2 separate regions of the Homo sapiens genome follow, and region 1 is linked to region 2. Evidence: promoter capture Hi-C in 16 types of primary human blood cells and fetal thymus (Javierre and others, 2016). All regions are on one chromosome and are shown on one strand. Each heading gives the region's core, a stretch centred on a gene start or on the middle of the fragment in contact. The rest is flanking DNA. Distances are from core to core; before and after follow the strand shown. Region 1 has its middle 93 kb from the start of ADRB1. Region 2 holds the start of TDRD1 (tudor domain containing 1).

Region 1 (3,543 bases), core at 914-3,413, 230 kb after region 2:
ATTATCTTTATTTAAATGCTCCGTGTTCATAAGCAACAACACTTCTATAGTCTCACATAGAACAGTCACTTTTAGTCCCTGGAGTTAAAAACAAAACAAAGCAAAACAAAAATCAGGGAAGTTATGCAAGTATTATATAAATAGTGTCTAATGATTCCCCACTATCTATAGGGTCAAGTCTAATTTCTTAGCCAAGGAGGAAATAATTTCTTGCATTCTGACTCTTCTAACTTGGTACCTCACTTTTCCTCCAAAAACATCCCTACAGGGACTTTTGGGCTCCAGATAAAAATCTTTGACTGCTGTCTCAGCTGGAGTTGCCCATACTTACCTCCTCAGGCATGAAGTTTGTGGCCTTTGGCTGGAAATGCCAGGGAATTAACGCCTCCCCTCCTCGGTTCGACAAGCATCTCTCCACCAACACCTGCTGGCAGTTGAAGAATAATCATCTTCCCAGCTTCCCTGCCGCTCAGCCTCTCAAGGGAATCATTTAGGATGGGTGTGTTAAGGACTAAATTGTGTCCCACCAGGTTCACATATTGAAGCCCTAATGCCCGGTACCTCAGAATGTGACTGCATTTGGAGATAGGGCCTGTAAGGGGGTGATAAGTTAAAATGCAGCTGTTAGGGTGGCCTCTAATCCAATCTGACTGGTGTCTTTATAAAAAGAGGAAATTTAGACTCACAGAGAGACACCAGTGATGCGGTTGCACAGACCAGGAAAGCCAAGGAAAGACTGATTTCAGGAGAAATCAAAGATACACCTTGAACGTGGACTTCCAACCTCGAGAACTGAGAGAAAATAAACTTCTGTTGTTTAAGTTACCCTGTCTGTGGTATTTTGTTATGGCAGCCTGCACAGACGAATACAGGTGTCCCTCATAAAGACTTCATTTCCACCAGGCTCCTGTGATCACTCTTCCCTCTCCATTCATCACAATTATTTTCTGCAGCATTCCGGCCAGGCGTGGTAGCTCATGCCTATAATCTCAGCACTTTGGGAGGCCAAGGCAGGCGGATCACTTGAGCTCAGCAGTTCAAGACCAGCCTGGCCAATGTGGTGAAAATCCATCTCTACTAAAAATACAAAAATTAGTCCGGCATAGTGGCATGCACCTGTAGTCCCAGCTACTAGGGAGGCTGAGGCAGGAGAATCGCTTGAACCTAGGAGGCAGAGGTTGCAGTGAGCTGAGGTTGTACCATTGTACTTCAGTCTGGGAGACAGAATAAGACTCTGTCTCAAAAAAAAAAAAAAATTCTGCAGCATTCATTTGAAAAAAAAAATTATTTTCCTTGACTCTTTATACTTTATTTTTTTCTAAGTCTTCATTTGATCATGAACCAAAGCTTCATTGAACACCATAATGCACTGAGTCCTGTTCAAAAGCAAGTGGGTTGCTAGATTCTCCACTTCAGCTATGAATCCACCACAGAACCAAACAAAGCCTTCAACACCACAGGGCTTAGAAAAGCACAATGATTTCTCTTTTTAAAAGTCACTGTTTTGGCCGGGCGCAGTGGCTCACGCCTGTACTACCAACACTTTGGGAGGCCAAGGCAGGTGGATCACTTGAGGTCAGGAGTTCGAGACCAGCCTGGCCAACATGGTGAAACCCCATTTCTACCAAAAATATAAAAAGTTAGCTGGGTGTAGTGGTGCGTGTCTTTGATCCCAGCTACTCAAGAGGCTGAGGCAGGAGAACCATTTGAACCCGGGAGGCAGAGGTTGTAGTGAGCTGAGATCGTGCCACTGCACTCCAGCCTGGGCAACAGAGAGAGACTCCATCTCAAAAAAAAAAAAGTCACTATTTTTCTGATTGTTAAAGTAATTGGAATTATTAAATAATTAGGAAAATATATAGAAAAGCATGACAATGAAAATAAAAATCACCCATAAAGACCCCTCCCTAGGTAGAATTGCTGTTAAGATTTTGAAGAATTGTCTTCCAATCTGATTTTGAAAATATACGTCAGGAGCATTTCCCCTGTTGTGAAGCAGCTTGTAGAAATCATTGGTAATATTGTGATAACATTCTATTGTATGGATTTACTGTATCTGTCCATCTATCTATCTACATATCTATCTGTTTATCTATCATCTGTCTACCTATATGTCTATGTATCCATTATCTATCTATCTATCATGTCTACCAGTCTATCTATCTATCTATCTATCTATCTATCTATCTACCAATCTATCATTTGTCTACCTGTCTATCCATCTATCATCTATCTACCTGTCTAGCTATCTACCTATCATCTGTCTACCTGTCTACTTGTCTATCTATCACCTGTCTACCTATCAGTCTATCTATCTACCTAGCATCTGTCTGCCTATCTATCATCTATCTACCTGTCTATCTACCTATCATCTACCTGTCTACTTGTCTATCATCTGTCTACCTATCTATCATCTGTCTACCTGTCTCTCTATCATCTGTCTACCTGTCTATCTATCTGTCATCTGTCTACCTGTCTATCTATCTATCATCTGTCTACCAGTCTACCTATCTGTCTATCGTCTATCTATCTATGTATCATCTTCCTATCTAGCCATTCACCCATTACTAGACATCTGGCTCTTTCCAATTGTGTTTATTATTATATTATTATTTTGCTTTGTTAAGTAGCTTGGTTCATTAACTCTCTGTATAAATCTTTGTTCAAATTTCTGATAATTTCCTTAAGATAGATTCCAAGGAGACTATAGGATCATGGGAGATGACCTTTACAGTTCTAGAAAGACATTACTAAATTGCTACTCTGGGGTGATTACACAAACCAGATGTGATTTTTACTATAAAATAACAAGGACATACTAAGGGTTCTTCTGCTGCTTAGATTCGATAACCTCAAACTTAAAAGAAGAGAAATGTTATAAGATAGTCAGAAAACTTCTGAATAATATTGGAAAGTTGACTACAAAAAGCTCAACTTTTTGTTACTGCATCGTAATTATGATAGAAATCATTAAGCTTGTCCCAGTCAAGATCCAATATAAAAAACTGAGGTTTCTTAAGTCTAGAATTTTAAATCTAACATAAAATGTAGAAAGACCCTTAGAAAGCACCTGCCAATTTTATAGATGATGAATGTGCAGCCCAGGGAAGTGGATTTCTCAAGATCACGCAGCTGCTAGTCAAAGAGCTGGTATAGGTATTCCTATCTCCCAAGCACTGGTTATAGAAATTTCTTTTAGGAGATTTAAGTCAGGGCAGCACCTAGCAATAATGATATGACTTATGCCTAAACATTTCCAACCAGGGATATCCTTGAGTTGGCTGCTAATAAATGGTTTTCCAAACACAGTTTATTAATTGGTTAGTTAGAAGAACAGTGAATTACAAAGACGATACTGAAATAATGAGTATGTCTAAATAAGAGGTACTGTTGGAAACAAGGGTCGCCTGCTGCAGGAACTACCATGGCTTTGCCTTTGGAGAAAAATGAGAATTTAATTCCTTTTGGAGCTTTTGAGTGACTGAGGAAAGTCCTATGCTCACCTCCTTTCTCAGGATTTTTGGAATGAATAATGAGCAAGAA
Region 2 (3,408 bases), core at 491-2,990:
CTCAGCTTTCTGGATTTCTTTGTTCTGTACTTCACGCTTTGAACCCATTAAGTCCTGAAGCTCCCTAAGGGTAGACCCTCTCTTTTCTTTGGAATCCTATCGGTTCTCCCTGATGTTGCTGGGGGCTTCCTAAGATACACTATGAATAGTGGGGTAAGTCATTTCTTCTCCCTCTAGGATACCACAGGCTGGAGTTCTTTTAACAACAAAAGTGTATGCACAGATACTCAGCTGTCATTTTTTTCCTTCTCTGATGTTTGCTTTTGTCTTCCTGGCAACCCCATGTATTCTGCAAGAACCATTCTACTCAAAGAAAACACTCCGGTTTTGGCTGGGCGCTGTGGCTCACGCCTGTAATCCCAGCACTTTGGAGGCCGAGGTGGGCGGATCACCTGAGGTGAGGAGTTGGAGACCAGCCTGGCCAACATGGTGAAACCCTGTCTCTACTAAAAATACAAAAATTAGCAGGGCGCCGGTGGCTGGCCTGTAATCCCAGCTACTAGGAAGGCTGAGGCTGGAGAATCGCTTGAACCCGGGAGGCGGAGGTTGCAGTGAGCTGGGATCGCGCCATTGCACTCCAGCCTGGGCAACAAGAGTGAAACTCTTACTCAAAGAACAAACAAAAACACTCCGGTTTTAAACAGACAAAACGCAACGCTTCGGTAAAGCATGAGCTCTTAAGTCAGCCAGGTAAGTCTCGTCTTCCTCATTTAGCCACGCTATCTTGGGCAAATCACTTCATCTTTCTAGGATTCAGCGACTGTAAAATGCAGAGGGCAGTAGTTAACTTCCTCACAAATCCTAATCACGAGAATTAAATGAGAGACGAAGTAAATCACTTAGCACAGTGGCTAGTACTTCCTAAGGGCTTAAAGGGCAGCTATTATTTCTGCTTTACTTTTATACCACTCCTACAAGCACAAAATTTCTTCCATTCCTGTGGAACCAGCTTGCAGGCTTAAGATGAAAATAATTTGAGGACTAAAGTATTTTTATTTCGTTATTCCTACAGATAAACAAGGGAGACGTGGGAAGTTGGAATAACTTACCAAACCACCCAGGGCCAGCACCTTACACAGTTTAGATAAAAACGCAGGTCAGACTCCACGGCCTTGGATTTAAGCATACAGCACCGTGCTGCCTCACTAAGGAAGCTGGAAGCATTTAGCTCCCTTAGTTCAGAAGCCCAGCAGGGCTAACGTATTTATAGCAAGGACCCTAGGGCCCGGAAAAGCTACTGGCACACAGCAGGAACTCCTTAAACAAACTAGCGCCAGCTGACCCACATCTAAGTAAATGCCCTAGCACATCTTCCTTTCCTATAGGAGGAAAGTAGGGAAAAAAAAGTCTAGTAAATGTTAATATTGTTTGTATCGTAATTTTTAGTCAAACGAAGGCACTGAATCCACATGCAAGTTTCTCTTAGAGAGAAGGTGAACGTTTGCATTTGAAGGAGTGATGCCTGGAAGCGCTATTTCCAAACTCAGAGAATCCTCCCACACCAAACCCTCGCAGCAAGGTTCCAAGTCTCCTCTCTCCACTTCCAGGCCCCTTGTACCCGCTCAACGCCCAACCTCAACGTCCAGCGCCCAACGTCTGGCCCCCAACGACCGAAGCCCCCTCCCTTCCCCTTCATGCAGGCCCTCTCCCTCCCCTATACGCCTGGGAACCCTGACCTGGAAAGAGGCAAGAGGACCGCGGATCCGAACCTGTCTCTGCGGTCTGGCGGTGATGGCGACTGCCGATGCTGGGAGCCCTGCCGCCTGGGATGCGCCCTGCACTTCCCTCGCCTCCAATCCCCAGTGCGCCCTCCTGGCCTCAGCGCACGCCTGCGCACTCCGCGTCCACGTGCAACTCAATGTGCCCACGTGTTCCCTCCGCCTTCCCCGGAAGCAGCTTGTGCTCTAGTTACAGGCTCAAAAAGTTCCTTTGCAGAAACTTTTATTTTGTTCTAGCTTCTTCTAGAAAGATGTCTCTGGCAACGCCTTTGGCAAATTTGGGCGCAAAGATGCAGACTTTGTCTCCTCGAAGGTCACTTGGGTCACCGTGGCCACTTAAAGGTCTTCCAAGGTTTTCCAAATAATCAACAGCCTCTGCCTGGTCTTGGAAAGTAAACACACACGTGCTCATACTTTTTTTCTTTGCTTCCTGACTGAGGGCATGTGATTATACCTGTTGGTGTTACTTAAAGACAAGCTTTTTAAGTTTTGTTTTTTTTTTTTTTTGCTATGGAACTTTTCTAACAATTTCATAAGGGAACCCTTGTGTGCCTATCATCTAGTTTCTACCTTATCAATTCATGGTTAATCTTGTCTACATCTGCAGCCCAGGCACTCTTCGGGCAATGTTTTGAAGCAAATCCGAGAATTGTAAATGTGAGACAAAGTAGCGAACGTCTGCTTCTGGCCCCCAGCATAGTCCTCCCTCACTGTGAAAAAGCCACGTTTGTTCACTGTGTTTGTCAGCATTTCAGACCCCTTGACTTAGTAACATCTCAGCCCTCCAGAAGAATGCCTTGAAGACTGCGGAGAGAACTCAGGTTCCCACCTCTCAGAGTCACTGCATTTTTAGAAAAGATACTTTCAGAGATCTAGGCCTTGCCTTTTTCTGTACCTAACGGACAAGATTAATGATGATGCCTAGACTTACTCTCGCACCCAAACTTTGAAAATATTTTGATCTTATATAGCTTCTGGGCACTTTTAATGTAACCCCTGGGCAGAACCTCTACCACCTAATATTTAAAGTGTGCTGACCCACTGCTTTGGAGTAGTTTAACAGAAATTCTCTGGGCTCTCCCTGGTTGCAGTCCTCAGTAAGACTCTGAATAAAACTAACTTCACTAACTTCAATTCTTTAAAAGCCTGATTTTTTTTCTTTAGTTGATGTGTCTTTTAAATTTATTTTTTAGAGCAGTTTCAGATTTACAGAATAGTGAAATGAAAGTGCTGACTGGGCGTGGGGGCTCATGCCTGTAATCCCAGCACTTTGGGAGGCCGAGGCAGGCAGATCACTTGAGGTCTGGAGTTCGAGACCAGCCTGGCCAACATGGTGAAACCCCGTCTCTACTTAAAATAAAAAAATAAAAAAAAATTAGCTGGGTGTGGTGGCAGGCGCCTGTAATCCCAGCTACTTGGGAAACTAAGGCAGGAGAATCGCCTGCACCCAGGAGGCGGAGGTTTCACCGAGCCAAGATCACTGCCACTGCACTCCAGCCTGGGCAACAGAGCAAGACTGTCTCAAAAAAAAAAAAAAAAAGAAAAAGAAAGAAAGAAAAGAAGGTGCTGTACAGAGTTCTGACAGAAGCCACATCGTTTCCCCTATTATTAGCATGGTCTGTTAGCATGATACATTTGTTATAATTAAGGAACCAAGGAACCAACATTGATACAGTATTAACTAAAGCCC

Evidence for each region. The method cuts DNA at HindIII sites, captures the fragments that hold promoters and counts their contacts. A CHiCAGO score of 5 or more calls a contact.
Region 1: a contact is called between a fragment that was not itself captured here and the fragment with the promoter of TDRD1 in region 2, in 1 of 17 cell types (neutrophils). The highest score is 5.1, in neutrophils.

What each region holds. Positions count from the first base shown.
Region 1 is chr10:113,949,210-113,952,752 of GRCh38, reverse strand. No RefSeq gene overlaps it. Among named protein-coding and RNA genes, the nearest start is that of ADRB1, 93 kb to the left of the region's middle. The HindIII fragment of the contact is 1,628 bases long and covers 1,350-2,977 here.
Region 2 is chr10:114,177,685-114,181,092 of GRCh38, reverse strand. It overlaps TDRD1 (tudor domain containing 1), which reads right to left and starts at 1,740. Exons shown (of 25, transcript NM_001395205.1): 1 at 1,677-1,740. The HindIII fragment of the contact is 8,256 bases long and covers 1-2,198 here.